Linked DNA regions of Homo sapiens: regions 1, 2 and 3 are each linked to region 4. The links are contacts of gene promoters, found by promoter capture Hi-C in blood cells and fetal thymus (Javierre and others, 2016). All regions are on one chromosome and are shown on one strand. Each heading gives the region's core, a stretch centred on a gene start or on the middle of the fragment in contact. The rest is flanking DNA. Distances are from core to core; before and after follow the strand shown.

Region 1 (6,180 bases), core at 3,396-5,895, 290 kb before region 4:
ATTTTGAGCCCAGTAGACTTACTTATTTCATGTAAAATTTAATTAAGTAAAAATCTATTTTAGGCCAGGTGAGATGACTCACATCTGTAATCCTAGCACTTTGGGAGGCTGAGGGGGAAGGATTGCTTGAGGCCGGGAGTTCGAGACTAGCCTGGACAACGTAATGAGATCCCATCTTTATTTTTATATTAGAAAAAAATCTGGCTGGGCATGGTGGCCCATGCCTTTAATCCCAGCACTTTGGAAGGCTGAGGTGGGCTCATCACTTGAGCCCAGGGGTTCAAAAGTATCCTGGGCAACATGGTGAAACCTCATCTCTATAAAAATACAAAAATTAGCTAGACGTGGTGGTGTGTGCCTGTAGTCCCAGCTACTTGGGAGCCTGAGGTGGGAGGATGGCTTGAGCCCAGGAGGCAGAGGTTACAGTGAGCTGAGATTGCACCACTGCACTCCAGCCTGGGTGACAGAGTGAGACCCTGTCTCAAAAATAAATAAATAAAAATAAAAAATAAAAAATCTATCTTAACTTGGATTGTGCATTGTAATTTATTATAGTGAAATTGCTATAACAGAATTTTATTTTAAGCCAGTTTGGGGAATACCAAAACATTTTTAAAAATCACGTAGTACTTTTTAGTGCTTTTAAAACCTAAATCCATAAAGTAGTTAATTAAAATGCATGAAGTAAATAAGTGTTTTTCTGTATTAAAGATAAAACTATAAACATATATTGTTCAATATGCCTACATAAATAAATCATTCTCTTCTTTTTGGTTATTTTTTGCTTATCACCTCTTACCTCCTCTACTTCCTAAAAACATGATAATCTCGTTTAATTCAAAATTATGTTTTCTGGCCATACATGGTGGATTATGCCTGTAATCCTAACACTTTGGGAGGCTGAGGTGGGCGGACCACTTGAGTCAGGAGGTCGAGACCAGCCTGGCCCGCTTGGTGAGACCCTGTCTCTACTAAAAATACAAAAATTAGCCGGGCGTGGTGGCACATGTCTGTAGTCTCAGGAGGCTGAGGCAGGAGAATCATTTGAACACAGGTGGCAGATGTTGCAGTGAGCTGAGATTGCACCACTGCACTTCAGCCTCGGCGACAAAATGAGACTCTGTCTCAAGAAAAAAAAAAAAAAGGTAAGACATATAAACTAGGAAACTAAGCAATAATTGTGTACAGTATGTGGAATATTTATGTTCTAGACCAGCACTGTTCAATACAAATATAATGTGAGCTCCAATTGTAATTTTCTTAGTCTGTATCACAATAAAAAGTAAAAATAAAATTAATTTTAACAATATACTTTAATATATAAAAATTATCATTTCAACATTTGATCAATATAAAAATTATTGATTAATGAGGTATTTTGGGCCAGTTTGGGGAGCCAAAGCAGGAGGATCACTTGAGTCCAGGAGTTCGAGACCAGCCTGGGCAACATAGTGAGACCCAGTCTCTAACAACAACAACAACAAAATTAGCTAGGCATGGTGATGTGCACCTATAGTCCCAGCTACTTGGGAGGCCAAGGTGGGAGGATCACTTGAGCCGAGGAGGTTAAGGCTGCAGTGAGTCGTGTTCGTGCTACTGCATTCCAGCCTGGGCAACAGAGTGAGACCCTGTCTCAAAAAAAAACAAACGAACCCAAAAGCCCACAAAAACACTGAGATATTTTACATTCCTTTTTTTGTACGAATGCTTCAAAATCTGGTGTGTATCTTACAGTTATAAAATCTCTCAATTTAGCCACCAAATTTTCACCAGAAATGCATGAACTGTGTTCAGATTTCATAAAACTTTCAGTTGATAAAGTAGATTCACATACTGAAGGTGTTCCAAACGTACTGAAAGGTTTTCCAAGTATTAAATTGAACACCAGTTTCCAGGTTTACATTTAAGTTAATTCAAATGAGATAAAATTTGCAATTCAGTTCCCCAGTCGCACTAGCTACATTTCAAGTGCTTAGGTAGCACATGCTGCTAGAGGCTACCATAATAAACAGTGTGGCTATAGGCCTTCTAACGAAGGGAAATGAAATATAGGGCTGTCTCCTGCTTTATAACATCTGGCTTACAATCAACAAATACAAATAGGGTCGCTTGGTGCAGCAAACCACCATGGCACATGTTTACCTGTGTAACAAATCTGCACATCCTGCACATGTATCCTGGAACTTAAAATAAAACAAAACAAATAGGGTCTCTTGCCCTGTGGGAACTGAAGCCACTGCTCTGTAGGAAATAAAAGTGTCTTTCTTTTTTGTTTTTTTTTTGAGACAGAATCTCGCTATTTTGCCGAGTGAAGTGGCATGATCTTGGCTCACTGAAGCCTCCCCCCGACAGGTTCAAGCAATTCTCCTGCCTCAGCCTCCCAAGTAGCTGGGATTACAGGCACCTGCCACCACGCCCGGCTAATTTTTGTATTTTTAGTAGATACGGGGTTTCGCTGTGTTGGCCAGGCTGGTCTCAAACTCCTGACCTCAGGTGATCCACCCACCTTGGCCTTCCAAACTGTTAGGATTACAGGCGTGAGCCACCGCGCCCAGCACAAAAGTGTCTCTTACCTAAAGAAAGTGATGCCCTTAAAGCTTCCTACCATTCCCTCACCCCCAAGACACACCCAGACACCCACAGATGCACCCTCTTGTTTGAAAACTGCTGCATCCTTGCATGGCTGAAGCATTACCCATGTCCTTGAAGCTCCTGCTTTCAGAGGACCTCTCATTTCTTGGGAGTAGAAAAGCCCTCTCTGGCCAGGTGCAGTGGCTCACGCCTGTAATCCCAACACTTTGGGAGGCCAAGGTGGGAGGATCGCTTGAGCCCAAGAGTTTCAAGTCAGCCTGGGCAACATAGTGAGATCCCATCTCTGAAAACAAAATTCTGAATAAAAATAAACAGCCCACCCTGTTTCAGGTATACCTCAACTGTCAAATCACTTTTAGGCAGGGTGTTTTGTTATTTTTGTTTTGTTTCAGAGTGTTGTTTAACTTTATTTTTGAAACTGAATTTGTCTAGAAAAGAATCATATTCACCTTTTGGTCTTAGCTACTCTTCATTTTTATAAAATACATCAAGTTGATGCTTAAAATTGGGGATCTAGTTACAGATGAAATTTTTCCTTTCAAAAGAGAGTTCCCCCCAGTTTTGCTGTAGTCTTAGGAGATACTTAAGGGAGGGGAATCATTTTTAGTTCCCCCTAGGTGAGGTGGTAGCCTCCCTAAACTGCCAAGTTCACACCATGACTGGTAACACCACTGTGTGAGGAATACTGAACAAACGGAGCTTCAGAAGGGAGACTTGCAGAGATTCTGGAATCTAGGTAATGCCACTTCCTACTTAGTTTATCTTAATGGTTTTGTTTGTTTGTTTGTTTTGAGACGGAGTCTCGCTCTGTTTCCCAGGCTGGAGTGCAATGGCGTGATCTCAGATCACTGCAACCTCCGTCTCCCAGGTTCAAGTGATTCTCGTGCCTCAGCCTCCCAGATAGCTGGGATTACAGGCAAGTTCCACCATGCCCAGCTAATTTTTGTATTTTTAGTAGAGACAGGGTTTCACCATGTTCGTCAGGCTGGTCTCAAACTCCTGACCTCAGGTGATCCTTCCGCTTCAGCCTCCCAAAGTGCTGGGATTACAGGCATAAGCTACCGTGCCCAGCCTTAATGGTCTTTTTAAAGGATACCTGATTTCAGAAGGAACCTTTGAAGAAATGGCTAGAACTTCTGTGTTTCTTTGGATATTGCCTGACATCTAAGCCAAATTAGTTGACCTTTTAATGTTAAATAAAATATTCAATAACTTTTACTAATGGGTGGGCTTTAGGAACCCCTTTATTTTACTATGTTGCCAAAAGTAGGTTCATTATAACATTGGAAACATCCTGATGTAATTTATTGAATGTAAAATTATTCCTCAATACATTTGAGGATGATTTCCATAAAGGGAAACAAATTCCTTTCTTCCAAATATACTGTGACAGCCTATTTTGAAATATTTAAAATATGTCCCTAAAGATGAAAATTAAAGAGCGGACACAAAGTTGTTATGCTCTAAGGAGTCATTCTTTTGATTTAAAATTCATTATAATTCCCTGGTTGTCTAGTGGTTAGGATTCAGCACTCTCATAAAATTCATTATATTGATTCTATAAAAGTATATTGTGTTGGATTAAGAAACACATGGACATTTTTAAGTGTTTCAAAATATTTTTGTTATACCTAGGTTTTCACTGTGGTGGTATTTGTTGTTTTAGTAGAATTTGACCTATATTTTATTCTATGGGAAAAAGAAGAAAGTAAACATTGGCTAGCTATCTACCACCCTGTACTGCTATTTGTGTGTGGTCCCATTGTGAATTTTTAACTCCATGCTCTATATTTTTAGTGCTTTGTGAAGATTGAATCTGCAAATCACCTTTGAAAGACAAAGGATTTGATTTGATTGTGGCAATCATGAAAGTTATCCTGTAAATAAAACTGTATGTCCTGGACCAAAGCTGGAATAATGCCACACTGAAATGATCTTAACTGTGGAATCCTTGATTGGACCCGATTTGTTTTGCACATACAATAGCTCCATAAAGATGATAGGCTTTCAGCAGGGATGAACAGATGTTCTGGTTTTATCAGAAATTGCTTTTGCATCACCAAGACTTCACAAAAGCCAGTAATCCCCCTGTTTGATGTTGTGGAGGTGCTTTTAAAACTTCTTCCCAGATACTGGTTTGAACACACAGACTTTGTCATTGACCTGTAAGATTCAATTGTCAGGTGGTATCTGTTTTCTCCCAACAGAAATAAAGAGAAGAAGAATAAAAACAAAAACTAGAAAGTGTAGCAGGGGCACAATTATTTATTTAAACTTTAAAGTATTTAATATTACATACCAGAATCTAAGTTACATAAAGCATGTCTGTTTTGTTCACTGCCACATTCTTAGTACCTAGAACAGAGCCCAACATGTAATAGTTACTCAATAAGTATCTGTTAAATAAGTATAGTAGTCCTGCCTTATCCCAAGGGATGCCTGAAACCTCAGGTAATACTGAACCCTACATATATATATTGTTTTTTCCTATGCATATATAATTATGATAAAGTTCAATTTATAAATTAGGCACAGTAAGAGATTAAGAACAATGATAATAAAATAGAACAAGTATGTAGTCTTTTTTTTTTTTTTTTTTTTTTTTTTTGAGACAGAGTCTCGCTCTGTCACCCAGGCTGGAGTGCAGTGGCGCAATCTCCGTTCACTGCACGCTCTGCTTCCTGGGTTCATGCCATTCTCCTGCCTCAGCCTCCCCAGTAGCTGGGACTACAGGCATCTGCCACCACACCCGGCTAATTTTTTGTATTTTGTTTAGTAGAGACGGGGTTTCACCATGTTAGCCAGGATGGTCTCGATCTCCTAACCTCGTGACCTGCTCGCCTCAGCCTCCCAAAATGCTGGGATTACAGGCGTGAGCCACTGTGCCTGGCCGAATGTAGTCTATCTTAAAATACTGTATCTTACTATGCTGTACTGTGGGTAACAGAAACCATAGAAAACAAAATCTCAGATAAGGAAAGACTATTGTATTCCCCTTTAATCTCAATACAGCAGGTGTATCCAGAGAACTTCAACCCTCAGAAGGACTGAAAGTGTGCCTTTTACTGTGGAAGAAAGAAAAGAGAGGGGGCTGGGTGCAGTGGCTCATGCCTATAATCCCAGTACTATGGGAGGCTGAGCCAGGAGGGTCACTTGAGCCCATGAGTTAGAGACCAGCCTGGGCCACAGAGTGAGACGCTGTCTCAAAAAAAGTTGGGGGGATGGGGGAGAAGAGAGAGGAGACAGCAAATATCTCTTTGTTTCCTTTGGATTTCAGCATTAAAGATAGAAAAAATGTGAGTTTATTAGGCAAAAACTGGTTTTTTAACCCCATTTTAAAGATTGTGGAGTTACGTATATATATCATAAAATTTACCATTTTTAACCTTTTATTTTGAGATGGAGTTTCTCTGTGTCACCCAGGCTGGAGGTTAGCTCATTGCAACCTTCACCTCCTGGATTCAAGCAATTCTCCTGCCTCAGCCTCCTGAGTAGCTGGGATTACAGGTGCACGCCACCATGCCTGGCTAATTTTGGTATTTTTAGTAGAGGTGGGGTTTCACCATGTTAACCAGGGTGGTCTGGAAC
Region 2 (6,333 bases), core at 1-2,500, 310 kb before region 4:
CAAGGGCGGTCGCGGAGGGGGCGCGAGGGACAGCGGGCTAGCGAGCGCGCGCCGGGCGGAACCAGGAAGCGGGGCGCGCTCCGGGTTGCCAGCGGCGCGCGTCCCTGGGCCTCCGCGCGTGAGCGGCGCGCGCGCCCCCGCGGGCCCCGGCGGGAGGAGAGTCGGCGGCCGGAGCCGTCACCCCGGGCGGGGACCCAGCGCAGGCAACTCCGCGCGGCGGCCCGGCCGAGGGAGGGAGCGAGCGGGCGGGCGGGCAAGCCAGACAGCTGGGCCGGAGCAGCCGCGGGCGCCCGAGGGGCCGAGCGAGGTAGGAGCTGCGGGGCGAGCCCTGGGCCCGGGGCCGGGGGAGCCAGGCCGGGGAGCCAGCCCGGGCGGGGCCCGCGCTCCAGCCGCTCAGCCGCCCGTCAGGGCCGCGCCGCCGCCATCACTCCCGGGCCGCGGTGGTTGCGCGCTGGGCGAGGGGCGCGCGCGGGGAGAGGGGGTCCGGGTTGGCTGCCGGGGAGGCTGAGGGCAATGCGGGGTGCGCGAGGGGGACTTGCGAACGCCGCGGCGCCGCGGGGGGCGTGCGCTTTAAAGGCTGCGTGCGCGTGTGCTGAGTGGGTGTGTGGGGACCCCGCGCCGACCCCATAGGAGCTCAGGGGGCTGCTGTCAGCCGCCTCACACCTTCACGTTGCAATTCCGAATATCCCCAGCCGTCTTCCTTGCTTTAACTTCTTTCTTTCAAAAGAGGTTCCCGGGACTCCGGGGATGGGATGAGCCTGCGGGGGTGCCTGGTGCGGTGGGGGGTATTAGCAAAGCTTCAAGAAACAGGGCCTTATAAGGAATCAAGACAACAAATACGAACGTTTCGATAAGACTCTGGGGGGCGGGATCCCACATCAGGACCCGCCAGGCCTGGGCTCGTGCGTGTGGCCGTGGGATGCAGTGTGCTTTTTCTTTCTAGTCAGGGATAAAGGGTTAAAAGTGCTCCTGGTGTCGGGGGGTAGATATGGAGAGTCGGAAGGGGAGTTGTATCACAAAAGCTGGTCTGAGGCTAAAGGAATCTGGCAAGATGGTCGGGGTGAACAAAGAGGAAAGAACTCACACGGAGCAAGAGGCGGTTGCAAACACTTGTAGCCAGCAGTGATGGAAAAGCCAAAGAAGAAAACCAAGTGTCAGCTTTTAGAAAGACGGGATTAATGAAAAGCACAAGAATTTTAAAGACTAAAAGAGATACCGATTCTCTCTTTGCCAAAGAGCCAGAGTCAGTTCTTTTCTTCTTGGTCCCTGTGATCCCGCCATACCTCGTATCAAATAAATAGTGCCAAAAGTGGGTCAAAGAATGTTAGAGCTGGAAAGGAACCCAGCGATGATGCCATTCTTTTATTGTACAAATGAGGAAACTGAGGCCCAGATAGGTGGAGTAAGTGGCCTGCTCAGGTGACACGGCTGTTTGTTGAGTATCCAGGGATTGAAACTTCAAGGACTCTGAGATTCGTGCTCTTCCCAAAGCATCGTGCAGTATACAGATCTTTGCCTAGATACAATTCCATACATTTTCTCTGCAGTGTCCTCAGGGAATGCCCTTTGAAAGGGCCAGCGTGACACTGAATATCATACTTGGGCTTATGTCATTTTTTTCAGTCTTCAAGTGGTGTTTATGGTCTGCTTGGATCTTAGGTTTCCAAAGCTGTTGGATAGCCGCCTGGGCCATAATAAGCTTTCAGCTGTTGGGTCTACATTATTTCAAATAATTTTGTTATCTTTCAATTAAGGTAATAGAACTGTGCCTCTCTCCCCAACATTCTATTGTTGTCCATTTGCTTATGTTATATTGCGTTATGTTCATTGCCTGTGAGTTCCTAGGTGAGGATGTATTTTATTGAGTGTGCCTTTCATGTTTTAAAATTTCATTTTGTAACACTGTAAATATTGGAGTGGTTCTGATCACTTCAAATGGGGAGAATCTTATTGATTGATTTTATTTTAAGGCTTTGGGTTGTTTTGTTTATTCATTTGGGTACCAGTTTCCATCTCATGGAAGATCACAGTTGTTAGAATGGACATGGCTAAATAAGAGAAGGGGCTGCTGATTTTAAGAAAAACTTCCTATGTGACAATTTGTGGTATCTGTTACGTTTAATTCAAACAAGTCCACACCTTGGGTCAGGTAAGCGCGTTATCTAGGAGATGACTTGTTTGCTACTGTAGCCTCTGGAAGATGAAATTTCAAGCTCCAGATTGAGACACAGGGAAGGAATGGAGAGGTTTTTTTTTTTTTTTTTTTTTTTTTTGTAAAGCAAACCATCAGAAAAAAAAAGTTGATTTCTATCACCAGTAGTTTGGTTATTGCATAACTTGAAGCTAAACTCTGCACAAAATAATCTTTGCTATATACCCAACTAGGTAAACTATCCCACCTTCTCATCAGTTCTCACCTTTTCGGTGCTTGTATTTTTTGCCCACGGGATATTAATATGGATTGTGTTCAGAAATTTAAGGTGTGTACTTCATAGTATGTATGATTGTAGGAGAAAAATGTGCTATCATCGTTTGGAGTGTTACAACATAAATATTTTGGTCAACACTTCCTATCCTGCTCTGACTTTTCATCTCATCTCCATTTTCTTCCTCTCTTGATTGTTTTTATGTCATTTACATATGTAAAAGCCACATCAAGACTAAAGTTGCCATTTATTACTTTTTGATACTTAAGTCGAGTTTTTTCAAATCATAGTATTGTTAGTATTCAAATTGTCTGTAATTTTTGTTAGGCTTATATATTATGAATCCATTTGTTGTGGTTTATTTGGCTTGTTGTTATGTAGGTAGGTGACACAGGTAGTCTTATTGTAAAAGGAAGACGTTATAGATAGGTAAATAACATGCTCAAGATTAGATGCAGGTTACAGGTGGAATCGAAGGAAGCCTAACTATTTTCGTGCCCTACAAAAATGTCTGTATCTCATAAAGTTATTCACAGATTTCTGGACATTCTATCTGTGACACATTTTTTCCCTTTCTGTTAAGAGTGCAGATTACTGCATTATTCCTACAAAAGGAAGCAAAATAACCCTAGTTTGTATGATTTTTCTGATAATTTGAAACTTATTCGTTTAAAAAGCTATCTGGCAATTCCAGGTTACTGGACTCTTGAGAAGAATATCCTTTTATTTTGATACTATAAAATATCAAAGTATCAAAATACTTTAACTGTGCAACTTAATAAAAATAATGCTTCAAAGTTAGCTCTGCACTATCGCTGTCCTCAAATGTGTGGTATTTAAAGGAAGAAAATGTTTTTAATTCTGAGCTTTGTGAATAGAACTCTTCTAAAATCAGAAGTTTTTTTTTTTCTCCTGCAGTGTTGGAAACACAACAGTTTTATGCTTATTTCTGGGAATAAGAAAGTCAAACTTAACAATCTAGTTTCCATTGATCAGACAGTTTTTGTACTTAAATTTAAGTTCTAAGCATCAGAGTGATAAATACTTTTTAAAATTGTATTCACTGTTAATTATAGTGGCCTTATTTGAAGTAAAATCTTGACATTGGGTGTTTTATTAATGATGATCCTCTGCTACTGAAAAGCCTATGTCAGTTTGGAGAAGATTTTGCACATCTAAATCTATGCTGTTTTTACTAATCAAAAGAGAAGAGCAATTTACAGGTGTTAGATTTTTAGTTGGTTGAATGAGACCCTCACTTTTGATGGTTTCAGAGTTGAAGTGACGTTTTATTACTTTTGTTAGTTTGGGTCACACCCATCACTTCCTTGGAAGGTATCTTTGAGGTTTGGTTTCCTTTTTTTTTAAATGGTAATATTGGGGTGGGGGTGCTTCCTGTTTGTATTTTCAAAATTAGGTCCACATGTTAACCTTCTTGTAGTGTCACATTTTTATTTTAAACTTATACAGACAAACATCAGATGCCATGTGGTTTGTCTCTGACCCTTTGCGCTACTTCATGACAGCTTTACTGAGTGAAGCCTGAATACCCAATCGGGAAGGCAAGATGTTCTTGTCTTTTCCCAACTCTCTTCAAAGTTTAACAGCCTTGGAAGGAGTCTTAGAACAGCAACAAAAGCACAATTTACAGAAAAATGGAGGTGCTGCTATCTGTTTCCTCGCAGGTACTTGGAAAATGTATAGCACTAAGATAGAGTTGAAACATGTTATGTAGAGCCTTGAATGTCGGTGCTTCAAAGAGGAGTTGCTCTGGGTTTACATGATACAGAACCCCATGGTTTATATTAAGTAGTAATGATAGCCGTTTTTCTGGACTCGCTTAAAAGCCATACACAGTGTCATGGAAAAGAGTTAAGAACAAGGTGAAATTCAGGGTATGGTATTAGAGCTCAGGAGGAATCACCTTCAGCCTTAAAACTCTTCCTTTACTCTCCTGGATCACTTAAGTGATAGGTCACTTTTAATATAAATGTTGCAGGATGAGTTAAGTGGAGCCTTGAGAAATATGTGTAGATTGTTTCAGTGATTAAAGCAAGTGTTCTTTTCCTGGCCTTTAACTCGCTTTATGCTAAGAAGTGTAATAACTAAATAGACTCCTAATTGAATTGACATTCAGATGTGTTTGCAGTTTAGGGGGAGTTTACCTCTTCTAAATTTTCATTTGGATCCCATTACTAAAAGCAGTATTGCATTAGCATGGTGCACAATTATGTACAATTCAATTTGCAAATGAAGTTAATACTTGGAGTATCTTGACTTCCTATTCCCCTGCTGCCCCAATATTCAAGAAAGGAGAAGTTATAATTTGTCACATACAAGATGGTTTCTTCTTTAGGTTTATTCTTAATAACTATGTCCATTTTCACATGGATGACACCACTGAGATGATGAATACCTGTATTGATTGATTGATGAAGAACATTTATCTTTTTCTACCTACTTTTGGAAGCTAGCTTGCAAAATCTACTGCAACATTCACTCTTCATGTATCCTTCTATTACCTTTGGTACCCTGAATAACCTTTTAAAAATTTTTGTACTTTTCTAATATGAAGAGAAGTAGCTTCATATTCTATGCTAGTTTTCTGAGGTGCTTGTGCTGACTCATTTTTTAAATTATACTAAGATATAGAGCATGGTTTGAGAGCAGTAATGAGATTCTCAGAAAATATGAAAACTTTCCTTTCTGACTAGTTAGAGAAAGGTTGGGGAAGACAAGGGGAAATACATCAATGAGCCAATCAATTATTGTTATTTGTTGGGATTAATTTGGTGACTAATATTTTTAATGCCCATCAGGCTACTAAATGTGAATTTGGCTTTACCCTGTAATGATAACAGGACAAACCCAACGGGTTTCTAACATTGCTTGTTTTCCCCTGGTAGGGGATTTCTTTGCATATGGGAAATCAGGCCGAAGTTGCCAGTAACAGCCACATCCATGATTTGTATTAAAAATAACTATTCATCATTCTGGGCTAGAGCTCTGCTTACCATGGCTCACCTGGGAAGATATTCTGATTATGTATCTAATCATTATGATGCCACCTTTCGAGAGGTGAGCAGACAATTAACAAGTCCTTCAAATTATGTTCAAAACCCAGAGTTTGAGAAAATGTTCCAACGCCTTCAAGTGTGAAGATAATAAAAACATTACCTAATGCTTACCGTTCACTGACAGTGTGCTGGGCAGACATTGTTTTCAGCTCTGGCCTTGTGTTAACTCGTGATTCTCAGAGGAGTGGGTATTATTCCCAGATGGAAGATGAAGAAATGGCCACAGAGAAGTTAAGTAATTTGTCCAAGGTCACATTACTGTTCTTGGCGGGGCTGATTCCAGAGACTGCATCCCTAACTAGTGTACAGCAAAAGCGAGCTGGCCACTGCCACTTTGTTATAAGACATTTTGTTTCTTTGAGGCTTGTATTTCTTTGTGTTCCCAAATGGAGTCTCGTTGGTTTTTGAATAGAAAATATTTTTATATGTTTAGGATTTTTTTAAATGTTGATGAAGATGGTGATAAATATTTTTCCAATTAAAGTATATACTTCTGGTGGAAATTATATTAAAGAAGAGAAAGTCTTAATTTTTATTATAAGTTGTCTTTCATTCTTCTTCCCCTAGCATTACCGTGTACATCATAGAAGAAGAGCTATAAGCTGTCTCCTTGGCCTCTGTTTACAAACAAAGGGATCATTTGTGCCAATGTAGTGGGTTTGTGTTGACATGCACGTCTGTACTGAGAACTCAACAATCCCACTCATTTTATTTACAACTTTATTTTGCGGGGATTTCTGTCCTATTCTTGTTGCATTAAAGCTTTTTAGAGCATTAGTCATGATTTCTGAGACAGATTTAAGAATTTTACTTATTTGGGCTAATTTATT
Region 3 (5,437 bases), core at 1,122-3,621, 260 kb before region 4:
ATTTAATACATAGGGCACACATATTTAGAATCTGACTTGCCTTAACTGCCTTCTCAAGGCGCAGATTGGGGTGTACTATTTGATGGACTATGGTATCACTGCTTTTTTTGTTTTGTTTTGTTATGTTTTCGTAGAGAGAATCTTGCTTTGTCACCCAGGCTGGAGTGCAGTGGCGCAATCTTGGCTCACTGCAACCTCCACCTCCTGGGTTCAAGCAGTTCTCCTGCCTCAGCCTCCCAAGTAGCTGGGACTACAGGCACATGCCGCCACGCCCGGATAATTTCTTTTGTGTTTTAGTAGAGATGGGGTTTCACCGTGTTGCCCAGGCTGATCTCCAACTCCTGAGCTCAGGTAATCCGCCTGCCTCGGCCTCCCAAAATGCTAGGATCACAGGCGTGAGCCACCACGCCCGGCCGGTCTCACTGTTTTGATACACTTGTTGGTGCCTCTTTTTTGAAATTAGTTGCTATCTTCAGGGATTTAGGGATGGCAGAGCCTTTTAGCTACCACTATCTTGTTTGGCTCCAGACCCAGTCAGCAGTTATTGAATGTTATTTCAGTCCGACAGCTGTTTGGTTTCTTCAGTGAGTAAGTAATTTGGTACTTCCCAGTGTCAATTGTTGCCTAAGTAGTAGAAAGGAAGGAAGGAACGGAAGGAAAGAAGGAAAGAAGGAAAGAAAGGAGGGAGGGAGACCATCCAACCCCCGTCACCAGTTCAGTAGCTTGAAATCAATGCAAAGTCTGTAGCGTGGTTTTCCTTGTTTACTGGAAAAGTTGGCATTGCCTTCAGGTCCTGGGTCTGCAACTAGTGACATGAATGTCTGACTCGTATAAATTCTTGTAGGCACCCTCTGCCTGAATGTCTCATTTCCAGGGCTTCTTAGAAATAGCAATAACTTGTTTCACCTGTCTCTACCTAAGAAACCCACAGATACCAAACTCCTTGAGGCTGGAAAGGACATGTAGAAGAGTCTTGGCCTTGTGCCTCCTTTACACCCATGAGGGGTAACTATAAATAGGAAATTATCCAAGTCCTTATTTCCTTCAGAGTACACAGAACCCTTTCCTTTTCCTTGCATTTCTCGGAGCAAATAGCATAAGCACCAAGCACATCATTGAGAGAAAGGAAGAAGGGCAGCACATTGTTAAAAATTTTTTTTTTTAAAAGAAGGAAATCTACTGTATAATCCAACTATTTAGTAAATTACAAATAGATTAACATAGGCATTGAGTCCATTTCTGTTGGGCTGTTTCTTAAAATTTGCAGTGAGGATTAAAAACATCACTTTAGTTGAAGAAAAAGTAGGATGTGTTGAGGCTGTATTTATACAGGCTCACGTGCATGTATGTATACAGATTATGTAATTTTTTTCCCCTAGGGACTCAGTAGATCTTGATAATCCACAGGAGAACATTAAGGCCACCCAGCTCCTGGAGGGCCTGGTGCAGGAGCTGCAGAAGAAGGCAGAGCACCAGGTGGGGGAAGATGGGTTTTTACTGAAGATCAAGCTGGGGCACTATGCCACACAGCTCCAGGTGGGTGTGGGCTCTGGGGTCACACTTAATTACCTTCCCTTGGGGGTCTTCTTCCTGTAGAGACTTTCTTTCTCTCCTTCAGTCCAGCATTGTTGAGTTACACGTGCATAAGGTTCTTGTTGTGTGGTTTTGGTCTTTTTTTTTTTTTTTACTTTTTATTTGAGAATAATTTCATACTTCCAGAAAGTTACAAGAATCATACAAAGATTCCCCACATATGCCCATATTCACCTGTTGTTGACTTTTATGTTGTCATATACTCCTCGCTGTCTCTCGACACACACGTTTTTCAGTCACTGGAGAGTAAGTTGCATACCTTGTGTCCCTGCACCAGTAAGTACCTCTGTGCATTTTCTATTTATTTATTTATTTATTTATTTATTTATTTATTTTTGAGACGGAGTCTTGCTCTGTCGCCCAGGCTGGAGTGCAGTGGAGCAATCTCAGCTCACTGCAACCTCTGCCTCCCGGGTTCAAGCGATTCTTCTGCCTCAGCCTCTCAAGTAGCTGGGATTACAGGCTCCTGCCACCATGCCTGGCAGTTTTTTTTTTTTTTTGGTATTTTTAGTGGAGACGGGGTTTTGCCATGTTGGCCACAGTGGTCTTGAACTCCTGACCTCAGGTGATCCGCCCACCTCAGCCTCCCAAAGTGTTGAAATTATAGGCATGAGCCACTATGCCCGGTCCCTCTGTGCATTGTCTTTTTTTTTTTTTTTTTTTGAGATGGAGTTTCACTCTTGTTGCCCAGGCTGGAGTGCAGTGGCGCGGTCTCGGCTCACCGCAACCTCCACCTCCCGGGTTCAAGTGATTCTCCTGCCTCAGCCTCCCAAGTAGCTGGGACTACAGGTGCATGCCACCACACCCGCCTAATTTTTGTATTTTTAGTAGAGATGGGGTTTCTCCATGTTGGTCAGGCTGGTTTCGAACTCCCGACCTCAGGTGATTCACCCTCCTCGGCCTCCCAAAGTGCTGGGATTACAGGCATGAGCCACCGCACCCAGCCCCTCTGTGCATTTTCTAAGAATGAACCTTGTCTTGCATGGTTATAATACACTGATCAACTTCACTAAATTTAGCATTGATATAATACTTTTAGGTACTCATCTGGATTTCCATTTTGTCAACTAATTCAAACATGTCCTTTAGGGTATTTTTCCCCGCTGCAGTCCAGAATCCAGCCCAAGATCACATATTGCATCTAGTCATCATGTCTCTTTAATCTCCTTTAATCTGGAACCATTTTGCAACCTTACTTTGTCTTTCATTACATTGGCATTTTAAAATAATTAATGTAGGCTGGGTGCAGTGGCTCACACCAGTAATCCCAGCACTTTGGGAGGCTGAGGCGGGTGAATCATCTGAGGTCAGGAGTTCGAGACCAGCCTGGCCAACATGGTGAAACCCCATCTCTACTAAAAATACAGAAATTAACTGGGTGTGGCAGTGGACAACTGTAATCCCAGCTACTTGGGAGGCTGAGGCAGGAGAATCTCTTAAACCTGGGAGGCAGAGGTTGCAGTGAGCCGAGACCGTGCCATTGCACTCCAGCCTGGGTGACAAGAGTGAAATTCCATCTCAAAAAATAATAATAATAATTCATGTACCCCCTGCTTTTTAAAGATAAAATGTTCCTCATTTGGGGTTTGTCTGATGTTTCCTCATGATTACGTTAACATTGCACATCTCCGAGCAGACTTCTAAATATAGTTGGCTGTCCATGTCCATGGGTTCTGCATCCTGATTCCACCAACCGCAGCTCAGAAATATTCAGGAAAAGAAAAAAAGTAAAAACAAATAGAAATAAAGATATGACAGAACAGCTATTTACATAGCATTTCTTTTGTATTAGATAGTATAAGCAATCTATAGGTGGTTTAAAGTGTATGGGAGGATTGTATGCATTCTATGCAAAACGATGCCATTTTATATAAGGAACTTGAGCATCTGCAGATTTTGGTATCCAAGTGGGTCCTGGAACCAGCCCCCACAGATGCCAAGGGACAATTGTAGGTGACTTGTCCTTCTCGGGTATCACATCCAGAGGGGGGCAGTGTCCCTCGTCCCCTCATTGGTGGTAGTAGTTTTGATTGCCCATTTGAGAGTGGCATCCAGTTTCTCCTCTTGCGAGGCTTTTAAAACTTATTTATTCCGTTTTTAAGAATGTTCCCCGGATACTTTAGGCAAATTAAGATGCAAAAAGTAAAACAGCACTTTGGGAGGCTAAGGCAGGTGGATCACCTGAGGTCAGGAGTTCGAGACCAGCCTGGCCAACATGGTGGAACCCCATCTCTACTAAAAAGACAAAAATTAGCCAGGCGTGGTGGCGGGCCCCTGTAATCCCAGCTACTCGGGGGGCTAAGGCAGGAGAATTACTTGAACCCAGGAGGCAGAGGTTGCAGTGGCCCGAGGTTGTGCCACTGCACTCCAGCCTGGGCAACAGAGTGAGACTCAGTCTCAAAAAAAGAAAAAAGAAGTAAAACAATCTTACCTTTTCACTGCAATTGGATTTCCATGATGTGCCTTCTTGTTCCTGTTGGTATTGGAGGAACAGTGCCTCCTGTGATTCAGGAGGTCCCTCAGGAGGCTCCCCATCCTGAGGCATGGTTAGGGCCCATAGTGTGGAGTGGCACAAAGTGATGTCTGCTGTTGGATTCTTTCAGAACACGTATGACCGCTGCCCCATGGAGCTGGTCCGCTGCATCCGCCATATATTGTACAATGAACAGAGGTTGGTCCGAGAAGCCAACAATGTGAGTGTCCCATAGGGATGGGGAGGGCAGTCGGGAAGTCTTTTCTTACCCACCTCCCTCTGGACCCACCTTTGTCAAGGTGACTCAGGGTGCACTATTGGTGTCTCTTTAAAGAGAGCTTCATCCTAAGGGGCACAAAAGAAATAGGAGACTTGACTGAGTGCAGCCCAGCACTTTGGGAGGCTGAGGCAGGCAGATTGCCTGAGCCCAGGAGTTCGAGAGCACCCTGGGCAACATGATGAAACCCCGTCTCTACCAAAAATACAAAAAAATTAGCTGGGCATGGTGGCATATGCCTGTAGTCCTGGCTGTTCGAAAACCTGAAGTGGGAAGATCCCTTGAGCCCAGGAGGTAGAGGCTGCAGTGAGCCATGATCGCACCCCTGCACTCATGGGTGATGGAGTGAGACCCTGTCTCAAAAAAAAAAAAATGAAATAGAAGATGTGGTCTCTGATCTTAACTGATTTATAACCTTGATGAGATTGCAACCACAAGACAATGTGAACAAGTGCAAAGTAATTCAACCTCAGCTGAATAATTTTTTAGTAAAGGCATGCTCATATTCAGGTGAGAATACTTAGGAAAGACTTTTCCCTAGCCCCTGAATCAGGTGTGGAAGGAGTGGTCTGATCAGGTCACTTACAGGGCTGGGTCCACAGAGACCTTGTTTATGCCTCCCCCATCACTTCACCCTGGGGTCTCCAGGATGCCTGCAAGAGGTTTGGCCTCTTCCATGGTGGAAGCAAATGATTCCATCACGAGAATATCTTGAGTGAGGACACAGATGATGTGTGTTCACATGGCCCTGCTCCCCATGGCCTCCCTAATGCTTAATGCCGTCCTTGCATTGGGTCAGTGAGTGGAAGAGGAATCACTCCACCTCCTCATTAGTAGGAAAACCCAGGTGACACTGGACCAGGTTACGTTCTAGTTTCTCCAAAGGTAATTCAATGGACCTCGTTTGGAATACTCTGGTGGAGGTCAGATCTGAAATGGAAGCTTCTCCCATGCTTTGTGATCTGAGCCATGATCTGTCCGCTCACCTGTTTCTCACTTTTCCCACTCCACCCTGTGTCTCATGATGACGTTTGCTTTTCCTCCCGACTCAAAATTTACCTTTTGGGGTCTTACCCTGGTTGTAGGAGCTGGCT
Region 4 (5,997 bases), core at 905-3,404:
GCTCTGGGAAGCCCCCGTGTTCCCAATGTGCTGCCAACTCCCCAAGGCTACCACTGGGACGCACCGCTTGCCCCTGCCCCCGCTGAGGTGAGCCTCTCTCTGCCTCCTGCTGCTTCGTGCTCCATCCTTTGAGTACAATGATGGTCCTTTGCCCGCAGCACCCTGTGCCCAGCAAGGTGGGCTTATAAGGCCCCAACCTGCCACCTACATTGTCGCAGCTCCTTCTTGAAGGCCTTGTGGTTCCCCAGCTCTTCCAGGAAGACCTGGCCGGCTTTGCGGAGGGTCTCAGAGCTCTTCTTGGTCAGGAACCAGCCGAAGTAGAGCGGCAGGAAGTCCTTCTCCAGCCCAGGCTTCAGCTTCTTCAGGTCATCAGCCGACAGCTGCCACTGGTTCTTCTCCTTGAGCTGGGCACAGTCCAGCCGCCACGCCGTCTTGGGCTCCACCAGCACCACCTGGTACTGGTACTGGTCGGCCATTTCAAAGAGCTGCTCCAGCCGTTCCCGTTCGTGGTTGGTGTCATCAAGCACAAGAATTCTGATGTCCCGGCGGCGGCAGTAGGCAGCCAGGTCCTCATCGAGCCGCTTGTACTCCTCGGAGAAGGCTCCTCGAGCGCCGGGGGTGATCTTGTAAGCGTCAGCCGACACCATCTTGGTGCCATCACGGTACTTGTCCACGATGACCCGTGCCAGCGTGGACTTGCCGCTTCCTGGCAGGCCGCGCAAGATGAAGAGCGTCTTGCACTCTAGCAGCGTGGCCACTGTGTCCTCATCCTGAAGGAAGGGAAACTGCAGCTCAGGCTTGTCCTTGGCCCCTGAGGATGACATCTTGCGGAAGAAGATCTTGGGCAGGAATGTGTGGCTTTTTCGGGAGAAGCCTCTGTTCTGTGTAAGGAGGGGAAGAGATGTCAGCCCAGGTCATTCGCGGGCTCCCCGCCGGCCTTACCCCTAGTCCCTAGACTGGTTGTGGGTGCCTTCCCAAGCGGGGCAGTGCTGGACCTTCTTTCCCTTTCGGTCCGGGAGCACCTTTCCGCTTCTGGTCGTGGAGGAGGAAGAGGGAAGCTTGTCTGAAGCTCTCCTAAGCGTGCGCTTTCCCCATTCCTGCCACTTCGGAAAGGTAAACGTGCTGGAGGCATGCGGGGCGCGCCAGGAGCCTGCGGTTCTGGGACTGGCCTCACTCTTATATGCTTGGCACCTACTAAGGACGTCCTCTTTGGAGGTGGGGGTCTCTGTGTCTGGGCCAAGCCACAGCTGCCACGGCTGAGTGCACAGAGAAGGGGGGGAGTGGAGAAGGGTTACCCCAAGACTGCCTCCCTTCCCCCAACAATGGCCGCAACAGATAATACTCTCTTGTCTGGCATGCGGGTACAATGGTCCCACAGAAGGGCTGGTGGGGGGCAGGGCAGGAGAGCACTGGACAAAGGCCCTCTTTCACCAAGCCTGCCACCTCCTCCTCTACCCTCTCCCGGCCCCCACAAAGTCGTGGTCTTTGTGCCTGTCCAGAACAGGGCAGCACAGGGCACCTGCAATTAGGATCCAGCTCTACCCGCCGCTGTGCTGTGTGTCAGAAGCGCCTCTCGGAGCCACTTGTTTTCCTATCTTCTAGAAGCCACAAGGGACGGCAGCTTTTACCGTAAAGGGTCCCCTCCTCTGAACTGGCTCCACCTCCCGCCCGCACCCGGGCGCGGGGCAGCGGTTCCGCGTGATGAGACTGGGCCCGGGGAGGGGGCGCCGAAGCGGCTGCCCCAGCGCGGGCCTGCGTGGGGTCGGGAGCAGCTCCCGGGCTCCCGGCCCAGGCCCACCCAGGCTCCCAGAGGCGCAGCAGCTTCTGCGGTCCCGAGTTCCCTCCTGAGAAACACCACCGTTTCCCTTTACAGCGGCCTCTCCGGCACCCCAAAACCCCTCCGCTTCTCCCAGACCTCAGGGCCGCCCTGAGTACCAAGAAAACTGGAAGTCGAACCCGGAGCCCCGGGTCCTCGTTTGCAAGACGCTTCCTCCCGAGGGGCCCCGACACTCGTTTCCCGCCCTGGTGCTACCCCGTGCCCGGCCCCGCCCGGCCTCTCACCATGATGAGGAGGGGCGCCACCGTCGCCGCCTCTGCCGGCACCAGCGCTCCGGGGCCGCCCGCCTGCGCGGAGGGACACGGGAGTCCAGCGGTGGCACGACCCGAGCCCGGCCGCTTTACATAGCCCGGGGGGCGGAGCGGGCACCCGGGCGGGCTGGGGGCGGGCCGTCTCCTCTGCGCGCAGGCGCTGCGAACCAAAACCCGAAACTCTCGCCGCGCGCGGGAACCTCGGCCCGGTCCCGCCCCCTGCGCGCGCCTGCTCCCCACGCGCACCCACCCACTGCGCCTGCGAGCTGAGCGGCCACTAGCTTTTTCTGCGTGTTGAGGGGTAACTCAGTCACCCTCCCCGGTCCCGTGGATTAGCAGGAAGTGAGTGAGGCAGGGTCGTGCAAAGTCGGATCCTGTCTTTAATTTTTGATATTTTATTCATCATGGACTTTTGCATTAATTAAAAACTTTTTTTTTTACCACATTGGATTAAAATATTATCATGCAATTTGCTGGCATTCCGGTAAACTCTGCATCTGAAATGCCTCACTGGCCTCATTCGTCCAGGCCCTGTGCCAGCCGAAAGTCAGTCTCAGCCCCGACCTTTCCTTCTAGGAGCTGTGGAGACAGACCAGGATGGCAATGGCCAAAGGGACAGATGAGTAACGGAGTGAAATCCTAACATCCTCTGAGGCCAGATCCTCAGCTGCCACCTCCTCTGTGAAACCACTGAGAGCTCCGTTGGATTTTTGAGTTTCCTGTCCAAGTGCTGTGCTAAGCACTCAGTCCTCGCAGCAACCCCTGAGGCAGGTATCCCATTGTTCAGAGGAGAAGCCAGCTTGGAGAGCCTGATTTACCTGATTATGCCACCCAGAGGTGTCAGAGGCGGAGTCTGTCTGCCCTCCCGACTCCCAGGCCACTCCCCTATCTTTGGCCTCACTCCCAGCATTCGCTTGGTTCTGGCTTGCGGCATTCTCCTACCTGTGACAGCTGGGGCCGCCCCACCACTGTTCCATCCATAAAGCCTCCCCGCTGTCCTGCGCACTGGAGGGACTCAGTCAGTCACCGGTGTGTGGGAAGCACCTCTCCTCCCAGGCCTTCCCCTCTCCTCCCTGTGACTTCTTGTTCCCTGTAGCGCCCGTATCTTCACCCTCCTGAAACCCTTTCTTCTTGGCACCTTTCTCATTTCTTCCACGATGCTCTTCCAAGAATGGGCAGGGGTGAAGAGGCAAAGTGACAGACTCAGGGTTTGCAAGAGTGAAAGACACCTATTTAATGGCAAAATAGTGATGGAAAGCAGCAGAAGTAAAACCCTCATTTTTCCTATAACAGACAAATCGCTTGAAAATCCAGTTTAATAAAATCCCATGATCCCTCTGAACACCAGCTTCCTGATCCTCATCTCTACCGATGGCTTCATTCATATTCCTTTTCCATCTCATTTCCTGTTTTTTTCGTTTCTCCTATTTCTCCAAATTGTGTTTTTCCCAGTTCTTCTGGCTCTCTTCTGCCCACTTCTGAAAGTTTCTTTAGTTCTTCTGGTTCCTGTCTGCTGAATTCTCCTGAGAGTCTTTGCTCTAATTCTCCCGAAGGCCTCCTATAAATTTCTCTTGACTCTCTTCTGCCAGCTTCTAGTAGCTTCCTGCCTGTTTCTCCTGATCTTGTGCCTAATTCTCCTGACAGGCCCTTGGCAACTGCTCCCAAATCGCTTCTGGCTTTTCCTGCTTCCACACTCTGCTTTCCGCTTGCTGGGCTCTGCAGAGCTTCCCCAAAAGCCTCATCGTCCTCATCTGTCTCTTTCTCATCCTCACTATGGTCCCACTGCTTCACCACCTTCTCGGGCTCATCTCTCACTCTCCTCATGTCCTTCTCTCTTGTTATTATTCTATCTTCATACAGTGAAGCTTCTGAAAAATAAGAGAAAAGCGGGAAGAAAGATAAAAGTTTGTTCATGTCAGGCCGGGTGCGGTGGCTCACGCCTGTAATCTCAGCACTTTGGGAGGCTGAGGCAGGCAGATCCCTTGAGGCCAGGAGTTCCAGACCAGCCTGGGCGACACAGTGAGACCCTGTCTGTACTAAAAATACAAAAATTAGCCAGGCGTGGTGGTTGGCGCCTGTAGTCCCAGCTACCCGGAGGCTGAGGCAGAAGAATCGCTTGAGCCCAGGAGGTTGGGGCTGTGATGAGCCAAAATCCAGCCACTGCACTGCAGCCTGGGTGACAGAGCAAGACCCGTCTCCAAAAAAGAAAGAAGAAAAAAAAGAAAGAAACTGTTCATCTCTGTGGAGGCCTGTGCTTTTGAGAGGCCGATGAGAGAAAGGCCCTGAGAATGACTGTTTTTGCCAGCTCTTTAAATTGGTGTTGACAGCACACCTTTCCAAAAGCAGAGAAAGGGAACCATCATTGACTGAGCCCAGCTCCGTCCTGTGCATCACGTGAGGGCTGTATAGCTTATCCCATCCAGACATCATGAAAATGCGCACTGCCGTTGATTTGAGTTTGCAGTCAAGGGACCTGAGATCGATAGAAAAGAAATCACACGGCCGGGCGGCATGGCTCACGCCTGTAATCCCAGCACTTTGGGAGGCCGAGGCAGGTGGATCACCTGAGGTCAGGAGTTTGAGACCAGCCTGGCCAACAAGGTGAAACCCCGTCTCTACTAAAAATACAAAAATAAGCTGGGCATGGTGGCAGGCGCCTGTAATCCCAGCTACTTGGGAGGCTGAGGCAGGAGAATCGCTTGAACCCAGGAGGCGGAGGTTGCAGTGAGCCAAGATTGTGCCATTGTACTCCAGCCTGGGCAACAAGAGCAAAACTCCATCTCAAAAAAAAAAAAAATTAACCGGGAGTGGTGGCACAAGACTGTAGTCCCAGCTACTCAGGAGGCTGAGGCAGGAGAATCACTTGAACCTAGGAGGCGGAGGTTGTAGTGAGCCGAGATCGCGCCACTGCACTCCAGACTGGGTAACAGAGGGGAGACTCCATTTCAAAAAAAAAAAAAGGCACAGTGGCTCATGCCTGTAATCCCAGCACTTTGGGAGGCTGAGATGGAGGTTGCAGTGAGCTGAGATCGCGCCACTGCACTCCAGACTGGGTAACAGAGGGGAGACTCCATTTCAAAAAAAAAAAGGCACAGTGGCTCATGCCTGTAATCCCAGCACTTTGGGAGGCTGAGATGGAGGTTGCAGTGAGCTGAGATTGCACCACTGCATTCCAGCCTGGATGACAGAACAAGACTCCGTTTCAAAAAAAAAAAAAAAGAAAGAAAAGAAATCACACAATGGTCACACTGCAAGTGTGCAAGTGAGACAGAATTTGAACCCAGGACAGTCTGACCCCAGAACACCTCTTTTCCCTGCAAGAAATAGCATAGGTGCTGGAAAATGACAGAAGGATTTTCTCCAGCATCTTCATTCTGACACTTTCTCTTTGTCCCTGGGAAGCACATTCATTATTTGTTGGGAGGTTTCCTATGAAAATATAGAAAAAACATAAGGAAAAAGATAGGTTTCCTATAAAGATATACGCTGCTAACAAAAAGTTCAGCTGAAGAGTTATTTTACAAGCAAAGGGATCCTTGCTCCTAAATTTTTTTTTTTATCAGTTATGGAGAAAAGTTACATCCCCTTCTGCGTCTCCCTTACATTCTCCTCCTGGAAACCACTAGTTACTGAGGTATCTGCAGAGGGTCTCAGGTCTCAGGGGGTCACAGCCCTTTGGTGGTGAAAACAGATGCAATGCTGCCACCTGCTGTTCTGAGAGGGACGTGCCCGGCAGTTCTCCAGGCACAAGGACGCAGGCCAGGGTAGGGAGACTGGGGTGTTGGCTGCTTCCCCGCAGAGTCTCTCTCCACAGCTGTTGCTCCTGTGGCTTCTCAGAGCAGCTCAAAGGGCATGTGGGGGCGGAGACAGAGCCCCTCTGAGGGGGTCCAGCCACCACAGAGCAGGTGC

The links. The method cuts DNA at HindIII sites, captures the fragments that hold promoters and counts their contacts. A CHiCAGO score of 5 or more calls a contact.
Region 1: a contact is called between a fragment that was not itself captured here and the fragment with the promoter of CNP in region 4, in 2 of 17 cell types (monocytes and M2 macrophages). The highest score is 5.7, in monocytes.
Region 2: a fragment that was not itself captured here is called in contact with the fragment with the promoter of CNP in region 4 in 7 of 17 cell types (endothelial precursors, M0 macrophages, monocytes and 4 more); the score reaches 8.1 in endothelial precursors.
Region 3: a contact is called between a fragment that was not itself captured here and the fragment with the promoter of CNP in region 4, in 2 of 17 cell types (M1 macrophages and M0 macrophages). The highest score is 5.9, in M1 macrophages.

What each region holds. Positions count from the first base shown.
Region 1 is chr17:42,255,882-42,262,061 of GRCh38, reverse strand. All of the region lies in intron 1 of STAT5B (signal transducer and activator of transcription 5B), which reads left to right. Among named protein-coding and RNA genes, the nearest start is that of STAT5B, 17 kb to the left of the region's middle. The HindIII fragment of the contact is 4,091 bases long and covers 2,600-6,180 here.
Region 2 is chr17:42,270,222-42,276,554 of GRCh38, reverse strand. STAT5B (signal transducer and activator of transcription 5B) reads left to right here and starts at 164. Exons shown (of 19, transcript NM_012448.4): 1 at 164-307. RefSeq lists a silencer at 1-531. The HindIII fragment of the contact is 902 bases long and covers 800-1,701 here.
Region 3 is chr17:42,223,628-42,229,064 of GRCh38, reverse strand. STAT5B (signal transducer and activator of transcription 5B) reads left to right here. Exons shown (of 19, transcript NM_012448.4): 3 at 1,380-1,536; 4 at 4,197-4,286. Among named protein-coding and RNA genes, the nearest start is that of GHDC, 32 kb to the right of the region's middle. The HindIII fragment of the contact is 5,832 bases long and covers 1-5,287 here.
Region 4 is chr17:41,962,952-41,968,948 of GRCh38, reverse strand. CNP (2'',3''-cyclic nucleotide 3'' phosphodiesterase) reads right to left here and starts at 2,154. Exons shown (of 4, transcript NM_033133.5): 1 at 2,062-2,154; 2 at 209-881. The coding sequence starts at 2,064. It overlaps ODAD4 (outer dynein arm docking complex subunit 4), which reads right to left. Exons shown (of 12, transcript NM_031421.5): 12 at 2,446-3,956. The coding sequence ends at 3,466. RefSeq lists enhancers at 7-564, 565-1,122, 1,123-1,680, 2,782-2,881 and silencers at 1,652-1,841, 1,972-2,411, 5,714-5,863. The HindIII fragment of the contact is 2,895 bases long and covers 1,061-3,955 here.